Regions from separate parts of the Homo sapiens genome. Here regions 2, 3, 4, 5, 6 and 7 are each linked to region 1. The links are contacts of gene promoters, found by promoter capture Hi-C in blood cells and fetal thymus (Javierre and others, 2016). All regions are on one chromosome and are shown on one strand. Each heading gives the region's core, a stretch centred on a gene start or on the middle of the fragment in contact. The rest is flanking DNA. Distances are from core to core; before and after follow the strand shown.

Region 1 (3,794 bases), core at 283-2,782:
TGGGAGCTATCAAAAATCACTGAAAACAATGAGGCTCAAATCAGAAGTATCAAGAATCAGCTTTCATGACCCCTACACCATGATGTTTTTCTTTATGACGGCAGAACTATTTTGAAACATTAAATATATCGGCAGGCACTGTGATTCAAAAAGTATTTGAGAACCTACTAGGTGCTAGACACCAACCGAGGCAATGAGTATGGGTGACAACATGTGCCCTGCCCTCACAGCACCAATAGTCCACTGGACAAATACCATCTGGAACATCAGGTAAACACCTAAGCCTGTCTGGAGGAAATCTAATTTGGGCGGAATCCCACAAGCACAGACTAGGTAAGGAGAAGGCAGTTAAGGTGGGAAGTAGCCAGATTTAAGAGTTTGGGCAATGGCCAAAGGTGCAGAAGTTTGAACTACAAGAAGTTCAGTGTAGTTGGTTCGTGTGTTTCCGTGGAGAGAGGACAAGGTCTGGTGGCACTGACAAGAATTAGACCGAAAAGGTAAAAAAGCAAGCCAGGTTTGTCTGGGCCAGTAGGCCAGGTCACAGTTGGGACTCCACTGAGACCACGGAAGCCACAGGTTTGCTCCTCATCCCCGGGCCAACTCGGCGGCCTCCAACCCTATACCCTACCCCCTGCTGCCTGTCCGTGCCTCGCTGGTGCAGACCTTCGTCGCCTCTCCTCGCCGAAGGTACCCGCAGACAGGGCCTAGTCGCTCTCCCCTCGCTTATCCACGGCATCCAGCCGATGGGCTTGGAGGTTTGGGGGCTGGCCAGTCCTCCACGCCTCAGGGAGGAAATGGCACCGTTAGAAAGACAAGATGGCCACACAAGCTCTAAGTGTTTGTCGGGCCTAAACCTGTATCCTCCCTCCAAGCACCAAACCTCCCGACCTCGACCGCACTCGACGCCCCGAGGCCCAGCACCGACGACAGTGCAGAGGAATTCCCGCAGGGTCAACAAGGGGTCACCGGAATCCCCACTCCCGCGCCCGGGCCTGCCCGTGTCGGAGCCACTGTCGCCGGCACTAGGACCGCCCGGGACGGGGGAGCCCACGATAAGTGCCGAAGAGCCTGGGCTCGGCCGCCCCTCCCCCACACCGCCCCGCCGGCACCCCAGAGCCAGCCGACCACCGCCCGAGAGTATGGGACGAGCGGCGCGTCCCCCGCAGCTCCTCGGGAGGGCCGGCCCACAACTTGTGCGGGGTACACCGGCGAGACACTCACCCGCCAAACAGCCCGAGAACAGGCGCCGACCGACCGCGCCGCGGACCCGCCCAGCGCTCGCGGTCCGCTCACAGCCCGCCCCAGCCCGCCCCGCCCCGCCCAGCGCGCAGGCGGATTGCGTCACCGCGTCACCCCGCCCCTTTGCCAACTGCTTCCTGGCTCAGTGCGACCTGGCCTTCTTCCCCTCCCCCATGCGGCCGGCTTCCGAGTGCGCAAGCCCAGAGTCGTCCGCGTTGTCCGCCTCTGCGCAAGCGCCGTGCTCCTCCCACGGCAGTTGGCCATATAGAGGCTGGGGGTGGGGGGGGAGGTCAAGCGTAGCCTCTTCTCCTTTACCAAGATGGCGGCTTGTCCCTGTTTCGCCACAGTTCCTACCTTATGAGCTCGGTTTTCTTATGCTTATAAGAGTGGAACAGGTAATGAGAATCTTCGCCTTGCGGTGGGTAACTGGAGTGGGGGGAAGGCCGTTTGTTAGAAGGAGACAAGTGCCCACTGAGGAGGAGAGAGGCGGTCGCGGGAGGGCAGGTGGTGGCGGGAGTGCGGAGCGATCACGGGGAGGGGGAGCCTTCGCCTCTCCTCCTGTCCTCCAAGAAGATGGCGGCAGCACCGAGCTGGGGCGCCGAGTACGACTGGGCGGGGGACGGCGAGCGGCCGCGCGAAACTCGTCTAGCCCACCACCGCCGCCGTCTCGATGATCGGGGGGCCTCTCTGGGATTGGCTGCGCGCACGTCACGTGGGGCCGACGGGCCCTGCGCAGACCATCGAGTCGGGCGTCCCTCCCCGGGGACGTGGCCTTCCTGTGCCCGGGCTGGGGCCCGCCGCCCCGCGGGGGAGGGCGGAGCTGGCGCGGCCCCTAGCTTTCTCCTTCTGGTGTGGGGCCCGAGGTGAGACCTGGGGAGTGCTCCGCGAGCCCACGAGCAGCGACGTGGCTCGGGGACGGGAGGGTGCCGTGCCTGGCTGCGGCCTGAGCGGGATGGGCGCGGGCGGCTCCGGCCCGCGGGTTGTGCCCCGGCCCGGGGTGTCCTTTCCTCCCTCCCGCGTGGCCTGGAGGCACTGCAACTGTTCGAGACTCACGTCAAGGCTTGGCGCAAATACCCCTCGTTCAGGAAGCCTTCCTAGGTTTCCCCCGCTTAGAGGAAACACTTCCTGAGTTCCTAATGGCTGACCCGCATGGTGTTGGGAACCTGAGCCTTTCTGACACCGTGGCATGTTGCTAGGGTATTTTTGTGCGTAGCTCCTTTGAAAAGTGGTTAGGTGCTCAAGGCTAGCTGCTACATATCCTCTCCATTCGACTTAAAAAATGAGAGGGTCAGACTTGACATGGTGTTTGGACGCCATGTAAAATCGAAGGAAGTCGACTTGGGCTTTGCTTATTAAACAGTGCCTATTATGGTGAAATTAAACGGCTGAAGGAATGTGGATGAGTCGTAATCTTAAGGAACATGACGATTTGCCCCTCAGTTTTGCGTTTTATGTCCTCAGATTCATAGCTACCTATACCCTAAGCCCTCAATCAATGACTTCACATTTATTTGGTGTCTGCTTAAGGATAGTCACTTTCTTAGCAGCTAACTTCCTTAAAACCCTATTAAGATAGGTTAAGTCACAATTAGGGTTTTGTCTAAGGCTCCTGGTAGCGGCACATTGCATAATAAGCTTAATGTTCATTTAGGGAAGCAAATCTGGGATGCTGAAACACTGGATGAAACGTAGTGCTTAGGTTTATATTTTGATTTTTTGACATGTAAAAGTATCCCTAGGCTAAATTCATTAAGTACACATGATATTAGGATGCTTGGCAACAGTATTTAAAAATAGTTGAAAAGGTGTTTGGGTAAGAATTATTTCCATCATTTGGATTACCGAATCTCTGAGTCTGAAACATCAACCTATCAAGTTTTAGACTTGGGGAAAATGGAGCTGGAGCCTACTGCCTCAAGTCTCAGGGACAGCGTTTGAAACCCCATTAAATAATTCATCATGAGGATTAAACTTTCCTGTTACTGCTATTAGTTTTGCTTGGTGCCAAGCACTGTTGAAGGGACTTAGCTCATCTTATCAGGAGTCAAATTAACGTCATTCGGGTAAAAGTGCATTGAGTGTAAGGAGAGCACCTCAAAGATATAGTTGACCTATATCACGTCCCTCAGCGCCACTAGGCTTACTTGAATCCCTGTTACAGTGTCCTCTCCAGTGGGCAAAGCTAACTTCTCAGTGGCCTGGTGGGAGAATTTCTTCTTGAGTAAATACGTATTTTTCCAGGTTTTGTTGTTTTGGCCTTCCAGTTGTCTGACTTCAGCCTCATGACCTCACTTCTTCATTTCAATTCAAAAAAATATTTGCTGGAAATTGCTGTGTAGGGTTAAGGGTTCTGCAGATACAAAGGTTGAGAGGATATAGTCTTTTCGACCAGGTGCAGTGGCTCACGCTTGTAATCCCAGCACTTTGGGAGGTCGAGGCGGGTGGACACTTGAGGTCAGGAGTTCGAGACCAGCCTGACCAACATGGTGAAACCCTGTCTCTACTAAAAATACAAAAATTAGCCTGGCATGGTGGCGCGCGCCTGTAATCCCAGC
Region 2 (4,127 bases), core at 1-2,500, 370 kb before region 1:
GAGGCGGGCAGATCACGAGGTCAGATCAAGACCATCCTGGCTAACACGGTGAAACCCCGTCTCTACTAAAAATACAAAAAATTAGCCGGGCGTCGTGGCGGCCGCCTGCAGTCCCAGCTACTCGGGAGGCTGAGGCAGGAGAATCGCTTGAACCCGGGAGGCGGAGGTTGCAGTGAGCAGAGATCGCGCCACCGCACTCCAGCCTGGGTGACAGAGCGAGACTCTGTCTCAAACAAACAAAAACAACAAAAACACACACACGGACTTTCCAGAGCCCTGCAGTTTTGCGCTTCAGGGACAACAGTGAACATTTATCGATCCCATGGTTCTCCTACAATTGCCACGTGGCCAGCGTCTACACAGCCCCCCATCCTGCCCCTGCTGTCAAACACAGCGTTTCCAGAACGCAGTCGTGCTGGGCTCCAGGTGAGCTTTGGGAGGAGCCCCGGCTGAGCCCCTGCACTGGGCCCCGCGCTTCGGGAAGCATCTCGCTCGTTCGTCTCGCGCGCCGCGTGACCGGAGCCCTCACGCTGGCAGCGGGCACCGCAGGGCCCTGAGAGTCGGGCCCGCTGCGCGCAGCCAGGGGCCAACGAGAGCCGACGCTGGGCGGGCAGCGTCCGGGAGCCCCTCCGACCCTGCGCTCCCCTCGTCCGCGCCCTGACCCCGCGTCTCCGGCCGTCCAGCCCGCGCCGCGTCACCTCCCCTCCCGGAGCGAAGGGCCCTGCTCGCCCGAGGACGGAGGCCCGCACGGGACACGGGGCCCCAGTTTCCGCCCCGGAAGCCCAGGACACGGCTCCAGTGGCGGCGCGGCCCAGGGCGCAGGCGCGGGTGTCGGTCCCACCGCGCGTCGTCCTCGCCCCGGCCCCGGCCAATCCCTTCGAATTTGGCCGAGGCCGGGAAATACTAGCTAATCACGGCGCGCGCTGTTGACGCCGGCCAATGGGAGCTCCGGAAGGCTGCGTGGAGACGCCAGCGGCGGGCGGTGGACAGTCATGGCGGCCCGGCGCGGGGCTCTCATAGTGCTGGAGGGCGTGGACCGCGCCGGGAAGAGCACGCAGAGCCGCAAGCTGGTGGAAGCGCTGTGCGCCGCGGGCCACCGCGCCGAACTGCTCCGGTTCCCGGGTGGGTGCGCGCGGCGGGGGGTGCGCCGCGGCCTTCGGTGCCTCTGCCTTCCCAGGGGCTCTTTGCTCCGCTTCGTTGTCTGCGGCTGGCGTGCTGTGAACTGTGCGGTTTTTATTTTGAAAGACGGGCTTTCCCTGTGTCGCCCAGGCTGGAGTGCAGTGGCGCCATCTCGGCCCACGGCAGCCTGGACCTCCCGGGCTCAAGCGATCCTCCCGCCTCAGCCTCCCGGGTAGCCGGGAACATAGGCGCGCGCCACCGCGCCCGGTCCACGCTGCGTGTCTTTAAGTGCGGGGTATGGTGATGACTGACGTGTAAACCCGCGCGAAACCGTGGTGTCTCCCCCAAAAGTCTCCTCCAGCTCTTTTGTAATCCATGTCTCGTTTTTGTGGGTTTTTCTGGTGTTGTGTTTTGTTTGATGGCTGTTCGCGCTTTCAGGGGTTTTATAGCATATATTTAAAAGTTTTCAAGTGAAGCATTGACCTTAATCTTTGGCCACCCAGTCCACAAATTTTATAAATGCTTTCTTTGAAGTCTCTACTTTCTACCCGAGTTCTTTTTTCCTAAAGCATTTTTCATCCCAGCTTGTTTGCAGATTGCTGTTATTGCTCAGAGAAATTCCTTTGGCTTCCGCAGAAGATCCAAGCCTGTCTAGAGATTTAGTAAAGTAAAATTCAACGTGAGACTTGAGTCCGGGAGAAATTCAGTCCAAACTATATTGTAATATAGAGGGAAAGCCTGATCTCACTTGCATTTTGTGTGTTTCTCTTTTTTTCTAGAAAGATCAACTGAAATCGGCAAACTTCTGAGTTCCTACTTGCAAAAGAAAAGTGACGTGGAGGATCACTCGGTGCACCTGCTTTTTTCTGCAAATCGCTGGGAACAAGTGTAAAAACCATTGCACACTGCTCCCTCTGCCCTTGCCACTTTCCTTCCTCCTGAGATTCAGTGAACGCAGCACTCGATTCTGAATGACAGTGACAGTAGTGCTGGGCCTGATGTTCTTCTGTTTAGCAGTCCTGTGGGCAGAGGTGGTGAAGCGCCCTAGTTCCCAAAGGGCGCTAATGAATGCTGTTTCGTCCTCCTGCTCCCCACACCCCATAACTAATAGACTTCAGTTTTTCGGGTTTTTTTAGACGGAGTTCCGCTCTGTCGCCAGGCAGAGGTGTGATCTCGGCTCACTGCAACCTCCGCCTCCCAGGTTCAAGCGATTCTCCTGCGTCAGCCTCCCGAGTAGCTGGGACTACAGGCGCGCCCCAGCATGCTCAGCTAATTTTTGCAATTTTAATTTACTTTATTTTTAAATTTAATTTTTGTATTTTTAGTAGAGACAGGGTTTCACCATGTTGGCCAGGATGGTCTCTCTTGACCTTGTGATCCACTCGCCTCGGCCTCCCAAAGTTCTGGGATTACGCAGGTGTGAGCCACCGTACCTGGCCCTTTTTTTTTTATTTTTAAGACAAGGTATTGCTCTGTGGCCCAGGCTGGAGTGCAGTGGCACCCGATCATGGCTCACTGCAGCCTCAACTTCCTAGGCTCAAGCAGTCCTCCCACCTCAGCATCCTGAGTAGCTTAGGGCCATAGGGGCATGCTACCAAGCCCGGCTAATTTTTTTTTTTTTTTTTAATGTAGAGTCAAGGTCTCACCATATCACGCCCAGGCTGGTCTCAAACCCCTGGCCTCATAGACTTAATGTTTTAAAGATAGCTTTAGGTATATAGAAAAACTGATCAAAAAGTAGAGTATGTAGAGCGCTCCCTACATACTACCCCTGCCTTCCCCCCTTCCCCATTATTTATGTGCTGTGTTATGTTACATTTGTTAAAATTGATAACCAATATTGATACATTAGTAACTGAGTTTATATGAACTCTCCTACCACCTTTTTTTGTTTTACATCATTGTAGTAGGTTTCCTCTTCATTCAACACTTAATGTTGATGTGTGTTCTTTCAATGTTTTTATTTACATTTATATACATATGTAGAAACTACTATAGTTAGAATTTTGTTTTTTAACATAAATGAGGTCATACCATACAAATTATTTGGCAGCTTTCTTTCTAACTCTGCCTTACAGATTTCTGCACTTACAGATCCCCTAACTCTGCCCTTCTCATTCTCTTTAATTGTCGTCGCATTGTCTCTAGAACCACGGTACGTGTAGCCAGTTCCCTGCTGGTGAATCTTCAGTGGTTCCTCATCATCCGTGTTACATGAAACACTGCATTACTCTCCTCCGGCTTAGCTTTGTGTCTTGCTTGGAAAGGCTGTCCCCACTCCAAGTCTTAAATGAAAATGAGACCATTTTTAATAATCTTTTTAACACATCTAGAATTTATGGAGGCAATTGTTCTTCTGATTTTGCTTTTTGTGGCTTTGTAGAAAAGTGATGAAACACGTATATGCCCAATTTAAAATGAAGAATAATCCTGATTTTACTTTTTAGATAATAATCTTATCCCAGGTACCCAGGGCTACGTCTCTTGTGTCCATCTATTCTCCTACAGGTTACTTGTTTCCCTAATAGATATTTAAGTTTCCTCTATGTCTAACTGTGGCTTGATAGTTTTTTTTTGTTGTTTTGTTTTGGTTTTTTTTGAGACAAGAGTCTCGTTGTGTTGCTCAGGTTGGAGTGCAGTGGCTCAGTCTCGGCTCACTGCAACCGCCGCCTCCCGGGTTCAAGCATTTCTCCTGCCTCAGCCTCCTGAGTAGCTGGGATTACAGGCGCGTACGACCATGCACAGCTAATTTTTATGTTTTAGTAGAGACAGGGTTTCACCATGTTGGCCAGGGTGGTCTTGAACTCCTGACCTCAAGTGATCCTCCCACGTCGGCCTCCCACAGTGCTGGGATTACAGGCATGAGCCACCATGCCCGACCAATAGTTCATGTCTTTTTTGCCCTAATTAATAGTCCCTTGTTTGGATGTACCATAGTTCATTACCTACTAAAGGACATCTTTGTTGCTTCCAAGTTTTGGCAGTTATAAATCTGTTATAAACATCCT
Region 3 (3,793 bases), core at 791-3,290, 330 kb before region 1:
GTCAAACTTCGGAAAAAATATCCACTCGCCGGGTGCAGTGGCTCACACCTGTAATCCCAGCACTTTAGGAGGCCAAGGTGGGTGGATCACCTGAGGTCAAGGGTTCAAGACCAGCCTGGCCAACATGGCAAAACCCCGTTGCAGTGAGCCGAGATCACGCCACTGCACTCCAGCCTGGACGACGGGGGGGGGGGAAAATATATACATACACACACACACACACACGTATATATATATTTATACATATATGTGTATATATTTATGTGTATATATACGTATATATATGTTTATATATATATGTACATATATACATAAATAAATATATAGACCCATCTCTAGACTTCCAGGTAATGATATTAATTTGAAATAAGATGACATGTAAGGCCAGGTGCCGTGGCTCATGCCTGTAATCCCAGCACTTTAAGAAGCCAAGATGGGAGGATCACTTGAGCCCAGGAGTTTGAGACCAGCCTGGGCAATACAGGGAGACCCTGTCTCTCTTAAAAAAAAAAAAAAAAAAAAAATAGCTAGGCGTGGACATCTGTAGTCTTAGCTACTGAGGAATGTGAGGCAAGAAGATCACTTGAGCCCAGGAGGTCAAGGCTGCAATGAGCTGAGGCCGCAACACCATACTCCAGTCTGAGCGATGAAGTGAGACCCTGCCTCAAAAAAAGATGACACGCAGGAGGAACAAGATGAAGAAGTAGGTTGGGTGTGGTGGTTCACCTGTAATCCCAGCACTTTGGGAGGCCGAGGCGGGCAGATCACTTGAGGTCAGAAGTTCGAGAACAGCCTGGCCAACATGGTGAAACCCCATCTCTACTAAAAATATAAAAAAGTTAGCCAGGCATGGTGGTGCACACCTGTAATCCCAGCTACTCGGGAGGCTGAGGCAGGAGAATCTCTTGAACCCAGGAGGCGAAGGCTGCAGTGAGCTGAGATAGAGCCACTGCACTCCAGCCAGTCTGGGCGACAGTGAGACTCCGTCTTAAAAAAAAAAAAAAAAAAAAAAAAAAGGACGGAGAGGTGCTGTACACCTTAAGAAAGAGTCCCCCTTAGAAGCAGTTCTCCCATTTGGTCGGCTGGATCCCAGACACTTGATTTTCCACGCCCTCTTCCCTGGGACTTCTGCGATCACAAGCAGAAGAGGGCAGATGGCATTTTAATAATATAGTAATTCCATCAGAAAAAACATGTGACTTAGTACTACTAATCTGACAGGCAGAAATGTAGGGAATTGTACTCAATGAATTTAACCAACTTCTCTCCATTTAGTACCAATTACACTTCATTCAACCAGAGAGGACTACAAAAAAAAACGAGTAAATTTAAGAGCTTACTGTAAACCACTTCATTTCGAAGAAACCTTCCTAAAACACTTAGAAGTTATTTTCCAAAAGATTTATATTTTATAAATTCAACAAAGGTTCTTCTTTTCCTTTAGAAAGCTCTTAGGTTTAAGATAACAGTTTGCATATGATTACTACTTTTTTTTAAATCTCCAAGAGTTTACATGAGAATGCTAGTAGTTCAGTCCTGAATGAAAACAGAGAAAGAGAGAAAGGAACTCCAAATTTAGCTACATCAGAAAGCTAGAAAACACTGTTTCAGTGCACACACTGGGCAGATTGCGCACATTAAAACCCACTCCCCTAGATCGCGCCCACCGCACTCCAGCCTGGGAAACAGAGCAAGACTCCATCTCAAGAAAAAAAAAAAAACCACTCCCCAGCAGCCTCTGCATTCATTACATGTTATGCTAACATACTGGATTTATGTTAAACTCTACAAACTGAAAGCTTTGATAGTAGGGGAATGTGTAGGTTATTATTAATTCAAGTTCTGTTTTTTTTTTATTACCAACCACATGCCAGACACAAGTGATGCACTAGAAATGCAAGCACAAGACACCAGCTCTGTCCTCAAGGAATGGGCAGTGTGGCTATTTAAGTGCTGGCACCTGCCAGTCGTCTGAATGGGGAGCATGCTTTTAGGGACAGTGCTAGGGACTGGTGGAGAACACAGCCACACTGTGGTCTGCCTGCCACCTCCTGGACCTCTCCACACCCGCAGAGGCCTTTGGCCTCTTTTCTTTCCCACCCACATTCACACCCTGGGTGACCTCATCTGATGTGACCTCCAGTCTATCTCCAGCCCAGGCTTATTCTTTTAGCTCCAAACCTGTAGACCCAAAAGCCCACTGGACACTGCTCTACAAGGATGTCTAACATCCACCTCACATTCAACACACATAAATCCAAACTCGCAACAGAAAGCTTCCCACCAGACAGGACCTCCCCAAGTCTTCCCCATCTGAGTTTCTTTTTTTTTTTTTTTTTGAGACAGAGTCTCGCTCTGTCGCCCAGGCTGGAGTGCAGTGGCGCAGTCTTGGCTCACTGCAAGCTCCGCCTCCCGGGTTCACGCCATTCTCCTGCCTCAGCCTCCTGCGTAGCTGGGATCACAGGCGCCCGCCACTATGCCCGGCTAATTTTTTGTATTTTTAGTAGCGACGGGGTTTCACCGTGTTAGCCAGGATGGTCTCGATCTCCTGACCTTGTGATCCGCCCACCTCGGCCTCTCAAAGTGCTGGGATTACAGGCGTGAGCCACCACGCCCGCCCCCCTCCATCTGAGTTGCTTAGCTCAGGCCATACACTATGGGGCCATCTTTAACTCCTCCCTCTCTACCCATCCCTCTCCCAACTTCCAATCTACAAACAAATTCTATTGTCTCAACCTCCAAAACACATGCAGAAGTCAACCTCTTACCCACCCTGAGCTAATCCACTGGCATCTCCTTGCTGGCTTGTTCAACAGTCTCTTAGCTGGTCTCGCTGCCTCTGCCCTTGCCCCTCTGCAGTACATTCTCAAAAGAGATGCCAGAGCAAGCCTGTTGAACACAGTCTATCATGTGACTCCTCCTCTAGAATGAAACCTTCCAAACGGCTGCCATCCTGTTCAGAATAAACACTGAGTCCTCACTATGAGCTGCCATCCTGTTCAGAATAAACACCGAGTCCTCACTATGAGCTGGCAAGGCCCCACTACACTGAGCCTAAGTCACCTTTCTATCCTCAGCTCCTGCTTCTCCCACCGCCACCCGCTGCACCTGAGCCACACCAGGCTCTTGCTACCTGCCCTTCCTCCTACACTGCTTTAAGTCTTCGTCAAAACTTAAACCTTCAGAGTGAGACCCTTCCTGGCCATCCTGGCTACAATTCCAATCCTCCTCATCCTTGGCCCAAATCACCATCCCCCAGGAGCCACGCACTTCGCTGCTAATGCTGGTCTCATGTCTAGAACGTTAGCTACCCCAGGGCAATGGTTTTCATCTATGTTGTTACTTCTCTAGTCCTAGTGTCTAGAACAATGCCTAACACATATCTGACAGTCAGTAACAAACAGTGTATTGAATTAATGACTATCAGAACAGAAACTGTATTACACATGGTCAAGGAAGGCAGAATCTTCAAGAACTCTAGAGATCAAAGGAGGGCAGATCATTAATCATCTCTGAAAGGAAATACAGCATCAAGTCAGAAGGAAAATTCCCCATGATATCCTACAAACATCATATACGTTTTTATCAGCATAAACAGAGACCTTTAAATGCAAACACCTTTTCTACTCTGATCCCACATGCAGCAACATCCAGTGTCCTATTAAAGTATCACCATGTCAACACAGTTGTCAAGGGAAAATAAAAGATAAAATAAAGTATCGCCATGTAACAACATAACTGTTCTCCCAACTTGAACATGATGATTTTCACATTTTAGGTCATATGATCGACA
Region 4 (4,164 bases), core at 123-2,622, 430 kb before region 1:
TCTCAAAAACAAAAACAAAAAAACGCTGAAGAGCATCAAGAGCGAGGGAAGAGCCTGACCTGGGGGCTGAGTAGCACCAAGTCAACGCTGTTGGCCGACAGCCCTTGCCCCGCTAGCAGGTTTGGCCTCAAGCTTCCCAGCCTACCCAGAGTGAGGAATCCAGGAGACCCCCACAGGGCCACATCTTAGAAGTCAGGGCCAGAAGCAAGCCTGTCCCAACCAACTTGCCCCGAAGACTGCAGGGGAAATGGCTGAACAGAATGAGAAAAAAGCAGAATGGAGCCCGACGCAGGTGCTCATGCCTGTAGCCCCAGCACTTTGGGAGGCCAAGGCAGGAGAATTGTTTGAGCTCAGGAGTTCAAGACCAGCCTGGGCATCATGGGAGACCCTGTCTCTATAAAACAATTTTAAAAATGTAGCCAGGTATGGTGGTACACACCTGGTCCCAGCTACTAGGGAGGCAGGAGGATCCCTTCAGTGCAGGAGTTCAAGGCTGCAGTGAGCCACGATTGCACCACTGCACTCCAGCCTGGATGACAGAGTGAGACCTTGTCTCTCAAAAAAATACAGAAGAATAATGTAAAAAAAAAAAAAAACACTCTCCTGATAAATCATGACCATGGATCAGCCCGACACAGCCCTACACTGACTTGCTACCTGGGAGTTTCACAGAATTTCATCCTGTGAACTTGGTCACTCTCAGGCTGAACAGACCCAAAGACACCTAGCAAAAGCAAAAGCAAAAGCAAACCCTCTCTGGAGGAAGGTACCTCGTCTTTGGCATCTAGGAACCCCTACAAATAATTCTTCAAACATAATGAGCTGCACACTGCCACAGACAGCCAAGCACACAAGAAACTAAGGAGCCAGGAGCATGAACCAGCAGAAACAACAGACACTAAAAACAGACCACACAGGCTGGGTGCAGCGGCTCAGGCTCACACCTATAACCCCCGCACTTTAGGAGGCCACAGTGGGAGGATCGTTTAGCCCAGGAGTTACATGAGACCCTGTTTCTACATACAAAATTTTTTTTAATTACCTAGGCATGGTGGTGTGCACCTGTAATCCCAGCTACTCAAGAGGATGGCTTGAACCCAGGGGCTATGATCACACCACTGCACTTCAGCTTGGGCAACAGAGTGAGACCTTGTCTCTAAAAAAAACTTTCACAGACTACACAGACTTGAAAAAATGGAATTGCCTGATTATAAAACATCACAAAAAATTATTCAAAGTTTTTTTTTTTTTTTTTGAGATGGAGTCTTGCTCTGTCACCCAGGCTGGAGTGCAGTGGCATGATCTCAGCCCACTGTAACCTCTGCCTTATGGTCTGAAGCAATTCTCCTGCCTCAGCCTCCCAAGTAGCTGGGATTACAGGCGTCCACCACCATGCCCGGCTAATTTTTGTATTTTTAGTAGAGATGGGGTTTCACCTTGTTGACCAGGCTGGTCTCAAACTCCTGACCTCGTGATCCACCTGCCTCAGCCTCCCAAAGTGCTGGGATTACAGGTGTGAACTACTGTGCCCAGCCTAATTTTTGTACTTTTAGTAGAGACAGGGTTTCATCATGTTGGCCAGACTGGTCTCAAACTCCTGACCTCAAATGACCCACCCGCCTTGGCCTCCCAAAGTGCTGGGATTATAGACGTCAAACTATGTTTAAAGACACAAATGGTGAGCTTGAGAATACCTAGAATAGAAAACTATAAAAAGTAACATTGCAGATTTGACAAAAATAACAAAACTTTTAGAAATAAAAACTTTCATAATCAAAATGTAAAACTCAATGGACGGAGGGAACCACTCATGGAGGGGTTCAGCAGCAAATAAAACACAGCAGAAGAGGGCATTCGTGAACTGGAAGACAGATGAGAAGAAATCACACAGAATGCAGCACAGAGAGACACGATGATGACAATATGGAGGGGAGATTAAGAGACACAGAAGACGGACTGAGACATTCTATCCTGAATCACAGTCCCAAAAGGAGAGGAAAACACAGACAATATCTGAAGCAATAATGGCTAAGAATTTCTAGAACTGGTAAAAGATACCAAGCCACAGGTTTAAGAAATTCAGTAATTCCAAGGAGATGAAAAAGAACGTACACACACACACCACACACTGAAAACTTTAGAAGATCAGAAAGAATGATCTTTAAGTGGCCCAAGGGGGGCCAGGAGAGAGGCAGAATCCCTTCACAGCAGCAGCTACCGACAGCAAAGTTCCCAACAGCGAGGAGGCCAGAGGACAGCGGGTCAGCGTTTCCACCGGGATAAAAGAAAACAAACAACAGCCTGAAGCCATGCGCCTGTGGAAAAGAGCCTTCAAGAATGAGGATGAAATAAAGGTATTTTCAGACACGCCAGAAGTGAAGAAGTGGTCACCAGGAGACCTTTACTGCAGGAAATGAACGAGGATATGTTTGCAACATAATCCCAGACAGAAGATCGGACACAAGAGAGTGGAGGGCAGAGAAAGTGGCCATAAAATAATAATCCTGGTGAGATTGCTTAAAATACGGAACACACATCACAACAAGAAGATGTAAGTGGCTGAAGGAACAAGCATGCGGAGTCTCAGCATCCTCCAGGGCTGCCCAAGCTTCTGGCAGCTCAAGACACCGAACTGGGAGTTGGTGAGCTAGACCCGCCACCTCCCGCGCGAAGACTGCCGGGCTGTGCGACTTCTGAACTCCTGAGGAGGAAATGCTGGATAAACCCGCCCGATTCAAATGAAGCAAGAAAGGAGCCGCAGGCAGGTCCCAGGAGAACCGAAGAAGTGGCTGTGAGTGAAGCAGGCCTGTGGAGACACAGCAGCAGGCAGGTCTGCTGAGACCCCCAGTCTGGGCTGACTGGGGAAGCCCCCCATTACAGGAGGGAATTCTTTATCCCCACAGTAACTAAGAGTGGTGTCCTGAACTGATGCCAAATGACAGCATGTCCCTCAACCTTACTCCACAAGCTACTCAACCAACACGATGGGGTGAATGAGGCAACACAAGCCTGTTTTCTTATGAAATGAAGTGTCCTCTGACCAGAGACAGAGAGAGGCCTCACTCTACACCTTTACCCATGACCACCAGGAAGGCCAGGTCCTGGATTCCTGATTCCTTTGGAAGCAGAGATGTCAGGAGACACGGGAACCGACTGTCCTTGGCGGGGGGTCCCTCCATCCCCTTCCTCACACCAACAGTGGCACCATCAGAGCAGACGCTCGAGCCCAACCACCCATCTCAAGGCACACATCGAGGAAGCCCACCGAGGAAAGCCACGTTCACAGCCCTGGGCTTGGGTGGACACAAGATGGACACCGTGGTGATGATCCCCAAAGTGCCCTCCGACCCGATGAACAGCTGCTTCAGGTCATAGCCCGTGTTGTCCTTCCTCAGGGAGGTCAGGCAGTCCAGGACAGTGCCGTCGGCCAGCACCTTGGGGCAAAGAGAAGCACGTTCACCCACCTGCCAGCCTCCTGACAAGACGTCGGTCGCCTCCGGGGCCAGGTGTCACTTCTGCAGCAGCCTGAGGTCATGCCAAGAGGCTGAAGGATGGACTTTCCTCCTGTACGAGTGACACCCTCCACACACAGCAGCTCACTGCCCAGGGGGCACGCCCGGGGTCGGGGGCAGTGGGGAGGCTCCCTGGGAGTAGGGCGTGAGCCCAGCCCAGGACCCAGCCACCTCTGGACCCACCAGCCATAAGGCATCAAAGCTCCCGAGCTGTGGGCCTCTCCGAGTCCTGTGTGCTGGTACTGTGAGTCGGAGGCCTACACAGCTCATGAGTGCAAAAAAGTAATTTACAATAAAGATAATCAGTGGCTGGCCAGAAAAAAAAGCTACTGAAGCGTCATAATTTACTGGATGGCACCAAAGCATGGTTTTGTGTTTGCTTCGTCCACTTGGGTAAACAGGACAGAGAGCTCTGCCTGTGACACTCGGCTGGTGAGGGTGCGGGTAAACAGAGGGGCCCTGGAGGAACAGTGGGCAGCAGAAGGTCACGAAGCTGACCCTGGATGAGCCTTCCTTCACACCCGGCTCCCAGAAGCCCACCACTGCCGGGGCGGTGTCCCCTGTAACTGCATCCTCTCTGTGTGGCCCCGAGGCAGTGGACACAAAATCACCCTCTCGTGGGAGGACAGGGCAGGGCCAGGCCTCCCTCAGG
Region 5 (3,962 bases), core at 1,019-3,518, 420 kb after region 1:
CCCTCCTGGGGTCAGAGTTGGAGTCCTGGGTGCACTGTGGCTAGTGGCTGCCTGAAGGCCTCTGGAGCACTTGGCCCCTTTGTGGTCAAAGCTGCCCAGCCGTCCAGGGCGGGTGCCCGCATCCCCTCCGTCAGCAGCGGCTCTCCTCTCTCTCCCACAGGTCCAGCTTCCCGGGGACCTTTGCTTGTCCACAGTTCCCTGGTGTACTCCACATGCTCCTGTGTGCCTGGCATCGTGCCTGGCTCTAGGGTACACTGAGGAGTGTGACACCGTTCCAGCCATAGGGAGCTCACCATGTCATTCACCACCTGCCAGAAGGGCCAAGGGGCAAGGATGGGGCCTGGCCCATCAGAGGCTCTGACCTCAGCTGGGGCACAGGTGGAGAGAGTGGGGTCCCTTGGGGCAACCAGCTGGATTCAGCTCAGGAACTGGTGGGAGCCAGGAGGCCAGAGCCAGCGAAGGACAGGACAGGGTGTCAGCCAGGTGGAATCCCCTGCTGAAGAGAGGAAAGGGGGGACATGGTCTTGTGCTCTTGGTGTTGACAGCAGTGGAGAGGGGGCTTTAGGGGCAAAGGAGGATGCAAAGCCTGGGGGCCGCTCCCGAGGGAGAAGGGCCCTGCTCTGTGGCCACTGGAGGGAGCAGCTTGGGGGCTGAGAAGCCGAGCCCCTCCCATGGCTCAGAGCCCCTGGGCACTTTGGGTAGATTGGGGTGTGGTTGGGGGTCTCCTGGGCGAATTCAGAACACCGGGAGGTTCCTGGGAAGGAGGAGCTGGGACACTGAAGGTGTCATCAAATCACAGATGTTGAAGCCAAGGCCCAGAACAGGCAGATGAGCTCCCTGGGCCACTGCGGCCGAGGGTGAGGGGTAGGACCCCAGCTGCCCTGCAGCAGCGTCCACCTCCCCCAGGCCAGAGTCCTGTGGAGATGGAGGAGTGTGGCACACGGCTGTGTGTGGGGACCTAGGCAGGCCGTGGGTGAGGGCCCAGGACAAATGGGGCCTTGAACCTGAATGGCTGCCCTCGGGGAGGGGGACACGTGCTCTAAGCAACTCCAGGGAACAGGAGTGGGCCAGCTTGGAGGAGGGATATCTGTCTCTCGCTTGACCGTGGGCTACCCTGTGAGGTGGTGAGCTCCCTGTCCTGGGAGGCATGGAAGCAGAGACCCGCTCACTGGGCTGCAGCCCCTCATAGGGGCTTCCAAGCACCAGGAAGTGAGTGGCTGTTGCCCCCTGCCCCACCCCTCCTGGGATCCTGGTTCTGCCCACAGCTCTGACTCAGATGCAGCTCCCCGGGGGGTGAGAGGCCCACGTGCGGTGGCTACAGGGGCAGCATCTCCACGACGCCCCTGTGGGGCCATCTCCATGTTCACTGTTTGCAGACACCCCTGTGGCTGAGCACCCGATGCACTCGGCCAGCTGGCAGGGCCAAGGGTCGATGGGGCGGCTCCCTGCTGGTTGGGACTTGCACGGCCCTGAGCAGGGGAGGGGGGCGGGGCTGGCAGGGTACCTGGTGCAGGTGCTGGAGGGGGATGGTGGGGCGAGTTTCTCCACCTGGGTGAGGTGGAGCCACGGAGACTGCTTTTCTCCAGAACCAGACGAGCTCCAGCTCCCAGGCTAGGTGGGTGCCAGCTCCTCTCAGGTTGGAGGCTGGGCAGGGTGGGGTGGGGTGGGGTGGGGACTGGTAGCCCAGGGGTCCAGGGCCCAGATGGCTGGATGCACAGCTGGGGCAGAGGCAGGAGCCATGCCAGGACTGCAGCCTGTAAGCCGGGCACAGGTGTCTGAGGGGAACATTGCAGAGACGCAGCCTCCAGGTTCCCAGCCTTCCAGGCAGCCTTAGAGAGTCGGGGGCTCCCCCACAGCGGGGTCTGGGCAGCCACCGCCCTGCCTCCCCTTCCTCACTGAGCCACGGGGTGCCTTGTGTTCCCTCCAACCTGGCAGGGAGGCTGGGGCAGGGGGGCCTGATCCAGATACCCGGCCCCTGGGCTGTGGGGAGGAGGGTGGAAGGAGGCCCATCAGCAACACACAGAGGCTCCCATCCCAGGGACGGCACAGTCCAGCGGCAATATTTCTCCAGGGACCCCAAGCCTGGCTGGGACAGGGGCCGTGCCTTGGGCCTAAGATGAGAGAGCTCTTCTGAAGGGAGGGAGGAGGGTGGTAACCAAACCCAGCCCCCGCCTGCCCTGCATGGCCCCTGTGACATTCCCAATTGCTGGGGACTGACTCACCCCCACTTCAAAGGCCTTAAATAGTTCAGCTATTTCACCTGCCACACTGTGCTGTCACTCTGGAATTCTGCTGTGTGGGAGCTGAGGCCCCACCTGCAGACCTGCTGCTCACCTGGGCAGGTGCCTCCTCACAGCCCATCTGCACAGCTGGCCTGCGGAGTCCTCCTCAGGGGCCACTGGCCCTCACCTGCCACTGTTGAAGGGATGCCTGCCCCTGCTCTCCCCACCTCAGCCATGGCCGTGCAGGTGCCCCTGTGGCACCACTACCTGCAGGCCATCCGGTCCCGGGAGGCGCCGCGTGCCCAGGACTTCCAGCGCGCAGAGAACGTGCTGCTCACGGTGCTGGAGCGCGTGCATGCCCTGGACCCCCGCTTCATCGTGGACTACTCCCGTGGCCTGGAGGCCTTCCAGTTCGCCCTGCGCTCCTCTGAGGACCCAATGGACATGGAGGTGCCCCTGTGGGTGGATGCCGAGGCTCTACTGATTGAGGAACCAGAGGCCACCCAGCCGGAGGATGGCCTTGAATTATGCCACCTGGGTGTGCCCAGGGAAGGGGCTGGCCTGGAGCGGTGGACCACCGAGGATACCTTCACTGCCTCCTCGGAGGGTGACGCCAAGTGCCGTGGACACATTGTGCCCAGCAAGGTCCTGTGTGTCCTCAAGGACCTGCTGGTAGCAGCCATCGTACACTGCAAGCACCACAGTCTCATCGCACCAGGTACAGGCACAGCCCACTCTGCACGCGTATCTGCGTGTACCGAGGGGCTGCTGTGTGGGTGTCTGTGTGCAAGTGTGTGAGTGCACATGTGTGTGATTGCCATGTACGTGCACACAGGGTGGCGACTGTCTTCTGTGTGTGACTGCACGCACAGGCATGTGTGCACGTGTGTGACACTGTGCAAGTGTGAACAGTGTGTTGGGGCACAGAAGTCGGGAGACCTCACTTAGGTCTTCCAGCTCCAAATGCCTGTAACAAGACAGATGACGTGTTCCGTGTCGTGTGTGTTTGCACGGGGGTTCCACGGCTGCCAGTCGTCCAGTGGCTGGAGTCTGGGGCAGCTGCTTCACTGGTGGCCTTGCAGGAGGGTCCCTCACACGGCTCTGGGCAGGCGGCTCTCTTGCCAGTCACAGCCTGTGACCTCGAGGCTCCCCGAGGCCATCCCGTGCCCACTTCCAGTGTCTGATGATGTTGCACCAGGTGGGAGGGGTGTGTGTGTGCCTGCCTGCGTGCGCGTGAGTGCAGGGGTGTGAATGCGTGTGCAGGTGTGTGCCCGTGTCTTATCAGCTTATGGCTGAGTTGTCTATTGGTGTCTTGAGCCCCAAGTGGGCTCTGAGGCTGGGCTTCTGCGTGGACCAGGGGCTGGCCTCAGTCTCTCCTCTGGGGCCTTTTGTTTGTTTGTTTGTGAGACTGAGTCTCACTCTGTCACCCAGGCTGGAGTGCAATGGCACGATCTTGGCTCACTCCGCCTCCTGGGTTCAAGCGATTCTCCTGCCTCAGAATCCTGAGTAGCTGGGATTACAGGCATGGGCTACCACGCCTAGCTAATTTTTGTATTTTTAGTAGAGACAGGGTTTCACCATGTTGGCCAGGCTGGTCTCGAACTTCTGACTTCAGATGATCCGCCCACCTGGGCCTCTCAAAGTGCTGGGATTACAGGTGTGAGCCACAGCACCAGGCCCACCTTTGGGGCCTTGTTGATATGGTCCAGGGTGAGTCTGAGCCCAGGGCTCCTTCAGCAG
Region 6 (3,656 bases), core at 158-2,657, 400 kb before region 1:
TCACCCGCGGAGAGCAGGGCAGCACCCTCTGCTGCCAACCGTCCCCGAAACGCTGACGCCCTCCTCTTCTGCGCCGAGTCCAATTCTGTCCACAAAGCCCGACCTGACATCTTGAGCTGCCACTTGACCTGTGTCTCAGCATCACCAGGTTCGAGGGCGCTGGCCAGATTTGATGGCTGTGGGAGAGGGCCGGGGGCCTGAGGGGACCGCCCAGCAAGGGCACCCCAGAAGCTGAGGCCACCGTGCAGGCCTCACTGGCCTCTCAGTCTCGCCTGAGGGAGCGCCATGGCGTGTGGCCAGGGAGTGCTGCTATCAGCCCTGAGGGAGGCAACCAGGAGGCCATGGGGAGCCCTGTCCCTTGCACAGGCCAGGGTGACCCCAACTGTCAGCGGCTGCTGACTCCCTTCAGCACCACTGCCACAAGAGGCACCCTCTGTGCTAACTCCCCAGGGTGTGGCAGGCACCCCTCGCCAGACGGTGCCAGCGAGCCCTTCCGCGCCCGGCCCCGATGGCTTCCCAGCACTCCACGTGGCTCCTAGCAGGGGGCTGGCTGCCTGTCCAAGCCCCGGGATTCCAGGTGCTACAGGTGACACTGCCCTTCATCCACACACACAGGTTCTGCCTCGCCAGAGCAAGGCCACAGGGCAGCAACAGTGCAGGGGGCAGCCTCAGGTCACGGGATCTCAGACGAGACACGGAGCATCTGTGCAGTCTAGGAACACTGCATTCCAGGAAGAGCCCCGGGCACGTGGGGAACAGGCCTGAAGAGGGCAGTCCACAGGGACAGGATGGTGCGTGCGCCTGGGTCCCCAGCAGGGAACAGGACCTGCCTTGAGGCAGAGCGGCCTGGCACCACAGCGTGACCACGAGGGGCGTGAATACCCACTGTGCTGATGGGTCAGGGACGCGCACCACAGAACTCCAGAGCCCAGGGGCAGGCGGGCTCCTGCACACACCCAGGATGATGCCCTTGGAGGCACCCGAGTGCACACTCCCGCCCCGGCAGGCCAGGCTTTGGGTCCAACCGACTGGTCCTCAGGATGACCCGTCTGCCCACCTGCACCATCCTCCTGTCCCTCTGGAAGGGGCCTCCTTGGCGCCTTGGACGTCAGAGCCCAGCTTCAGAGCTGGCCTTACCAGCCTGTCTCGACGTCTTGCAATGGGACAGGAGCAGCACTGCCACTTGGGGGCACAGAGAAGAAAGAGATTCACACACAAGCTAGATCCAGAGCCGCAGGGCCCCGCAACTGTCGCCATCGGTGATCACCCTTCTCATCTGTCACTACTGGGACCTGCACGGCAGGCAGCGCTGAGCTCCCAGGCTCCGCATTGCTACTAAACAGTGCTGGTCAGCGCACTGTCAGGACAGGAAAAGCCATGAGGCCACAGTGGATCTTCCTGTGTTTGCAGAGGTGCTGGCTGTTCCTGAGGTCTCTGAAGCTGGGCAGAGCCCTCAGGGAGGAAGCCCCGACCCCAACAGGGAGCTGGAGTCTCCTTCACCCCCACGAGGACCCCCAGTGCCTGCATTCCTTATGCCTAGCATACCCTTGAGAAACAGCACTGGGTGAGGAAGAGACCAGGAGGAGTCCCACTTTCACGCAGAAAAGGCACGGTCGGGACAGGGCCTTCAGGTTCCGAGCAGGAAGGAGCAGGAAGACTCAGAACGCTGTTGCCACTGAGTTAGAAAACACAAAACCCAGCAAGTCACAAAAACCACATTCTCAAAGATGTCGGGGAGCTGTGGAGCAACAAGAGCTAGATGACCTGCAGCCAGAGTGGGGGGTGTTGGGGGGTTGGGGGCGGCGTCCGCCTGCCTCATGCACTGAGTGAGGGCTGGGCTGGCCACTGGGCCACGCTGAGCCCACACAGCCACACATGGCGGCCGCGTCCCCACCGACATTTATAGTCCAGAGGCTGCACAGAGCAACTAAAAGCAGAGGGAAAATCCCTGCAACCTCGGAGTTCTCGAGCAAGGGGTCTGCTCGGGCACCGCTGGTCTCCTCCCCCGCACTTCTACCAACTGTGGAAGCCGCTGGGGCAGGAGGCGAGAGAGGAAACCTCAAGGTCCTCAAGGGGCCTCGGTGGAGCTGAAGCTGAGACCCTGCCCCGCCCCAGGCCCCCAGCCCTATTGGCCTGGACTAAAACAGAACGAACACCTCCTGGGGAGAACAGAAATTTCCCTCTCCACGCTTCCTTTATATCTAAAGTCAGACAGCTAATAAATCATGAGACATGTACCCTCAGCAGGGAAATAGGACTGATTATGTTTTTTTAAAAGCTGGTTACCAAGGAATGGTGGCACATGCCTGTGATCCCGGCTACTCAAGTGACCCTCCCACCTCAGCCTTCCAAAGTGCTGAGATTACAGGCATGAGCCAAAGCACCCAGCCCTACAATCTCTTAAATGAAAAATGTATTAAAGGAGATTAAAACTAACTTAGGGCCGGGCACAGCAGCTCACGCCTGTAATCCCAGCACATCGGGAGGCCAAAAACAGGCAGATCCACCTGAGGCCAGGAGTTCGAGACCAGCCTGCATAACACGGTGAAACCCTGTCTATACTAAAAATACAAAATTAGCCAGTCATGGTGGCACGTGCCTGTAATTCCAGCTACTTGGGAGGCTGAGGCAGAGAATCGCTTGAACTTGGGAGGCGGAGCTTGCAGTGAGCCAAGATTGTACCAGTGCACTCCAGCCTGGGTGACCAAGCAAGACCGTCTCAAAAAAAAAAAAAAAAAGACAGAAAGAGAAAAGAAGGAAGGAAGGAAGGAAGGGAGGGAGGGAGGAAGGGAGGGAGGGAGGGAAGGAGGAAGGAAGTGAGGGAGGGAGGGAGGAAGGGAGGAAAGAAGAAAGGAAGGAAGGAAAGAAAGAAGGAAAGGGAAGGTGAGAGGCTGAGCTGGGCGGATCACTTGAGGCCAGGAGTTTGAAACCAGCCTGGCCAACAGGCTGAAACCCCGACTCTACTAAAAATACAAAACTTAGCCGGGTGTGGTGACGCTCACCTGTAATCCCAGCTACTTGGAAGGCTGAGGCGGGAGAATGGCTTGAACCCGGGAGGCAGAGGCTGCGGTGAGCGGAGATTGCGCCACCGCACTCCAGCCTGGGCCACAGAGCCTGAACCTGTCTCATAAATAAATAAAGTAATAGAAACAAATCAAACTGAAGTACAGAAAGAAAAAAGCTTGCAGAAAGTAAGCAGAGCCTCGGTGAGCTGTGAGAAAATCTAAGCTAAGGAACGCACAGGGAGCTGGACAGCAGGAAGAGGAGAAAGGAGAGCACAAAAATACTGGAAGAACTGTCTGAAAATTTTCCAAATTCGATGCAAAGTATAAACCAACAGTTCAAAGATGCTCAACAAGTTCCACGCAAAATATACACAAAAAAATCACACCAATACACATCATAACCAAACTGTTAAGAGCCAGTGACAATGAGAAATCTTAAAAGCAAAAAAAAAAAAAGAAACCACCAAAAATAATTATTATCAGTAATTTATCATCAGAATCAATGAAAGACAGAAGAAAATGAGAGAACATCTTTAGCGATAAAAGAAAAAAGGTCAACCTAAAATTCTATACGCAGTGAAATAAAAGCATTTTCAGAGAAACAAAAACAGAGAATTCATCACCATCAGCATACATGTACTGCAAAAAATG
Region 7 (3,760 bases), core at 590-3,089, 340 kb before region 1:
ATATTATCAGGAACATGTATGTTTAAGTACTTCTGATAAAAAAATTTGGGGGTCTTTAGCTCTAAAGACTCAACTCTCACCAACTCAGGGGAATTTTCTCCTACTCCTTCAGTGGCCAACTCTCCCGAAAAGTTCTAATCCACATACTCTGCTCTCAGCTGCCTCTATTTGGCTGCACTGCCTCTCAGAGAGTTGAGTTCCAGCTATTGTGATTCTCCTCCCCACTCTGTTTCTGACTGTGCTTGCTCTGGTATTTACTTTTCTTTCATTGGAGTCATTTGTCCTCACTGCCAGACTGACACGTTTTCCAATCTGTATTTCCTCCCTACATTCAGTGACATTCTGTCTACTGTCGTTAGAAAGGTCTAAGCCCATCAACGTTAAGGACAAGAAGAGCATGCTAAGGATGTCCTGGCTGGCCTTTGACTGGGGGTGGACAGAAGGATGAGTTGCGGGGGGGATGGGTTGGTGGATGGGGACACTGTAGGCAGTAAGGTCTCCCCTTACCCCACAGGCTTCACCTAAAATCTGAGTGGGAACACCGTCAGGCAGCTCTTTCGCTGCAGGAAGAAGCTTTAGTGGAATTTCTGAATGGCATCAGTCTTCTCCTATCTAACTGCTCCTTCCACAAGCAGTTCCGAGAAACTAGAAGAAAAGTCCTTGCTTAGCCAAGGACACGTCTGTTTCTCTAGCTTCGGCTTTGCGGACTTCTTCCTCAGACGTCCTCCCTTGCGCACTCTTAGCAGCACGACTGAAAAAAGCAGCCTGCTTCCTGCCCTCCCCCCACTACTCCCTCCTGGGGCTTTTGGTAGGGGTCATTCAGAACGACCCCGATGTCCTCCTCACAACACCACGCCACACTCAGGAACCCAGAAACCCAAGCCTTGTGCATCAATGCCAGTGCCTTTGCTGGCTGGATGTGGATGCCTTTCTTCCTAAATGGGGGCATCAGGCACCTTCCACATGCTCCTGTGAGGAACAGTGTCCTTTCAGGCAGCTGACGCAGTGAGACGAAGCCAGTCAGACCAGGCAGCCTCCACATCCTCCCGGGAGCCACCATCCCCAGGGGCTGGGAAATGCAGATTCAAGCTCTTCCAGGACCTGACTCCACTCTCACTCTGACAAGCCACGTTTCAGCAGCACTGCTTTGGGCAGCCCTGAGACTCCCGAAGGGACGGAGCTGGAGTCCACACAGACAAGCTGCCCCCAACACTCCCACCAGTGCTACCTGCACCCAGAGGGACGGAGGTTCTAGGAAGCCCTGACCCTTGCGCCTTCCTGGCCACTGCACCCAGCAACAGCCTCCCTAATCCGAGGCCAGGGACTGAGGTGTGACTTGGTGAGATCCTGAGCACGCGTGCGGAACGAGGGGGTAAGTGATTTCCCCAAACACGGGAGGGAGGATGGGGCAGTGAACAGGGAACTAAGGTATAATAGTATATTGTGTAGCCAGTTAATAATTACAATGCTGTCACTCATGGCCAGGAGAAAATACTTAGGAAACTATGTAAGTTTTTGAAAAGCACAGGAGAAATACTGAGAGTAAGAATGTCAAAATGCTCATATGAGTTATTTCTGAGTGGTAAAATCAATAATTTTTCTCTTTCTTTGTACTCTTCCTGTGTTTCCAATGTTTTATAAAAATTTCAAGAAACAGAATGGAGGAAAAAGGCAGATGGAAGAAACAAACACCCTTTGGTTATGATCCCAAGTTCAAGTCTCTGAGGAACAGAATCCTGGAAGGAGAGCCTGCTGTGGCAAAGCTCTCAATGCTGCAGAAGCCAGCCTCACTCTCCCTTATAAAGTCCTGCCTCACTCCCTCCGCTGTGTCACAATGCCCCCGAGGATGGCCAGACGATGAAGAAACAGAATGGAGAGGCAGGGAAGGGGCGTGTCTGTGACCCAGCACACACCTGTGTGGTGACCTGGCACACCCACAGTCACAGGGCAGGACCCACTCCCACTGTGAATCTGTGCGCAGTTACGGCTGTGGCTCTGAATGAGGTCTTTTTTTTGGGGGGCGGGGGACGGATTCTCGCTCTGTGGCCAGGCTGGAGTGCAGTGGCGTGATCAAGGCTCACTGCAACCTCCGCCTCCCAGGTTCAAGCGATTCTTCTGCCTCAGCCTCCCGAGTAGCTGGGACTATAGGCGCGTGCCACCATGCCCAGCTAGTTTCTGTATTTTTAGTAGAGACGGGGTTTCACCATGTTGGCCAGGCTGGTCTTGAACTCCTGACCTCATGATCCACCCACCTCGGCCTCCCAAGGTGCTGGGATTACAGGCATGAGCCACCGCGCCCGGCCTAAATGAGCTCTTTCTTATGGAAAATTGGATTCAAGGCAATAGCCTACATGTAGAACTTCAATAAAATTGGAATTGAGGGAGTTTTGAGAAGTTCCTTGGGAAAAAGGTGGCCCTGAGTGAAAAAGGCAATGAGGCATTTTTAAGAGTTCTCAGCTTGGCTACATCATGGAAGGTGAAACATGAATTTGGAACTCACTCAATGAGCCCATTTGTTAAAACTGAGCCACAGTTTTCCTCCTAGATGTAAATGTTGCCACGCCCAGGTTCCTTCAGGGTTGCAGCAGACCTTTCTTCCAGAAAGCTGAAAAGAGCTCTGCCTTCACGACGTGCCTTTGCTCGAGATGGTGCAGCTAGAGATGGTTGCTACATCTCTCTGTCGCACATCAAGGCACGCAAAATAACTTCACCAGAATTCCCACACGAGGGCGCCTAAGCACAGCAGGGCCTTCATAAACGATTTGTAACCAAGACACAAAACACGACGTGAGATACCAAGTCGCGGCCTCCAGACAGCCTGGGCTCTCCTCTCTTGGTATGACCGCCGGGATAGGAGAGCGAGGCCACCGTGCATCTGGCTTGGCGCACAGGCCCCACGGAGCACCTGCACGGCATGGGGCGACTGACAACACTCGCCGAGGCTCCCGTGGGGACTCAGGCGAGGAAGTGTGTATGTTGCCCGTGATTTCAACTTTCTTGTCCATGGAAACTCTGAGCCACTTACTGATTTCCTCCATCACAACAGTGTTGTCCATTGCAATGTGGACCGCCAAGGAGCTCCACGTATCGAAGACAGCAAGCTTCCTACAGAGAGTAGGAGAATGACCATAAGCTTTTGTACAATTCAAAGACGGTTCATCTTTGCAGCTATAGCTGCGCGAAGGAGGGTTCGCGTTAGAGGTGCTTCTCGGATGAGAAGGGCCAAGGCTCCTAAAATCCGGGGCACAGCCAATGCCACAGACAGGAAGAAAGCTGAGGGTAAATCTGCTTCTTCTCGCCTGAGGCCCAGGGGTCCTGCCCTTGCCCCAGCCTCCATTCATAGAGAGCACACGCAAGAGGCTTTTGAGTGGCCTGGTTTTCTGGTCTCACTGGCACAGAGGCAGGAACTAGAACATGAACGCAGCTCTGAGACGCTGTGGGTTTTGCCAACTTTGAGGCAGGCCTCCCAGCACCTTCACGCTCTGCTCTGCTCTCCCCTCCACCAAACACGCTGAGCTGACAACCAAGGAATCTGAGTCCTTATAGAGAAATCTGCAGCTTAGTGGGAAGCACGACTGTGCACGCCAGTGAGGAGGAACCATGGCCTTGGATTTCCCCTTCTGAGGGAAGGGCAGATTCTGCAGCCAAAAGTCTAACACGACTCTGATCTCATCTCAGGTCTGGCGGAGGTGGGGTCAGAGGACCTCAACAAAAGGTAAAACAATAGAAAAGGCCCTGAGGCAGCAAAGACCTGGTGCTC

The links. The method cuts DNA at HindIII sites, captures the fragments that hold promoters and counts their contacts. A CHiCAGO score of 5 or more calls a contact.
Region 2: a fragment that was not itself captured here is called in contact with the fragment with the promoter of HDLBP in region 1 in 1 of 17 cell types (neutrophils); the score reaches 8.1 in neutrophils.
Region 3: a contact is called between a fragment that was not itself captured here and the fragment with the promoter of HDLBP in region 1, in 6 of 17 cell types (neutrophils, naive B cells, erythroblasts and 3 more). The highest score is 8.5, in neutrophils.
Region 4: a contact is called between a fragment that was not itself captured here and the fragment with the promoter of HDLBP in region 1, in 1 of 17 cell types (neutrophils). The highest score is 5.8, in neutrophils.
Region 5: a contact is called between the fragment with the promoter of MAB21L4 here and the fragment with the promoter of HDLBP in region 1, in 1 of 17 cell types (naive CD8 T cells). The highest score is 5.1, in naive CD8 T cells.
Region 6: a fragment that was not itself captured here is called in contact with the fragment with the promoter of HDLBP in region 1 in 1 of 17 cell types (neutrophils); the score reaches 8.5 in neutrophils.
Region 7: a fragment that was not itself captured here is called in contact with the fragment with the promoter of HDLBP in region 1 in 2 of 17 cell types (megakaryocytes and erythroblasts); the score reaches 5.6 in megakaryocytes.

What each region holds. Positions count from the first base shown.
Region 1 is chr2:241,313,410-241,317,203 of GRCh38, reverse strand. It overlaps HDLBP (high density lipoprotein binding protein), which reads left to right and starts at 1,532. Exons shown (of 28, transcript NM_005336.6): 1 at 1,532-1,634. It overlaps SEPTIN2 (septin 2), which reads right to left and starts at 1,279. Exons shown (of 13, transcript NM_004404.5): 1 at 1,222-1,279. RefSeq lists enhancers at 82-806, 757-816, 807-1,531, 1,457-1,556, 1,577-1,626 and 1 more and silencers at 1,007-1,356, 1,897-2,276. The HindIII fragment of the contact is 7,846 bases long and covers 1-2,876 here.
Region 2 is chr2:241,683,649-241,687,775 of GRCh38, reverse strand. It overlaps DTYMK (deoxythymidylate kinase), which reads left to right and starts at 961. Exons shown (of 5, transcript NM_012145.4): 1 at 961-1,122; 2 at 1,899-2,007. The coding sequence starts at 993. It also overlaps a transcript of ING5 not described here. RefSeq lists silencers at 472-1,001, 752-1,014, 1,062-1,371. The HindIII fragment of the contact is 5,811 bases long and covers 1-4,127 here.
Region 3 is chr2:241,640,096-241,643,888 of GRCh38, reverse strand. The region is part of intron 1 of ATG4B (autophagy related 4B cysteine peptidase); the gene reads right to left. Among named protein-coding and RNA genes, the nearest start is that of ATG4B, 4.3 kb to the right of the region's middle. The HindIII fragment of the contact is 477 bases long and covers 1,802-2,278 here.
Region 4 is chr2:241,743,979-241,748,142 of GRCh38, reverse strand. It overlaps D2HGDH (D-2-hydroxyglutarate dehydrogenase), which reads right to left. Exons shown (of 10, transcript NM_152783.5): 6 at 3,266-3,434. Among named protein-coding and RNA genes, the nearest start is that of D2HGDH, 11 kb to the right of the region's middle. The HindIII fragment of the contact is 2,476 bases long and covers 135-2,610 here.
Region 5 is chr2:240,894,462-240,898,423 of GRCh38, reverse strand. MAB21L4 (mab-21 like 4) reads left to right here and starts at 2,268. Exons shown (of 5, transcript NM_001085437.3): 1 at 2,268-2,940. The coding sequence starts at 2,427. RefSeq lists enhancers at 1,097-1,732, 3,005-3,640. The HindIII fragment of the contact is 9,523 bases long and covers 1-3,962 here.
Region 6 is chr2:241,717,502-241,721,157 of GRCh38, reverse strand. All of the region lies in intron 5 of ING5 (inhibitor of growth family member 5), which reads right to left. Among named protein-coding and RNA genes, the nearest start is that of D2HGDH, 15 kb to the left of the region's middle. The HindIII fragment of the contact is 3,552 bases long and covers 1-3,183 here.
Region 7 is chr2:241,658,453-241,662,212 of GRCh38, reverse strand. It overlaps ATG4B (autophagy related 4B cysteine peptidase), which reads right to left. Exons shown (of 13, transcript NM_013325.5): 7 at 3,026-3,105. Among named protein-coding and RNA genes, the nearest start is that of ATG4B, 23 kb to the right of the region's middle. RefSeq lists enhancers at 588-1,087, 1,088-1,589. The HindIII fragment of the contact is 2,528 bases long and covers 576-3,103 here.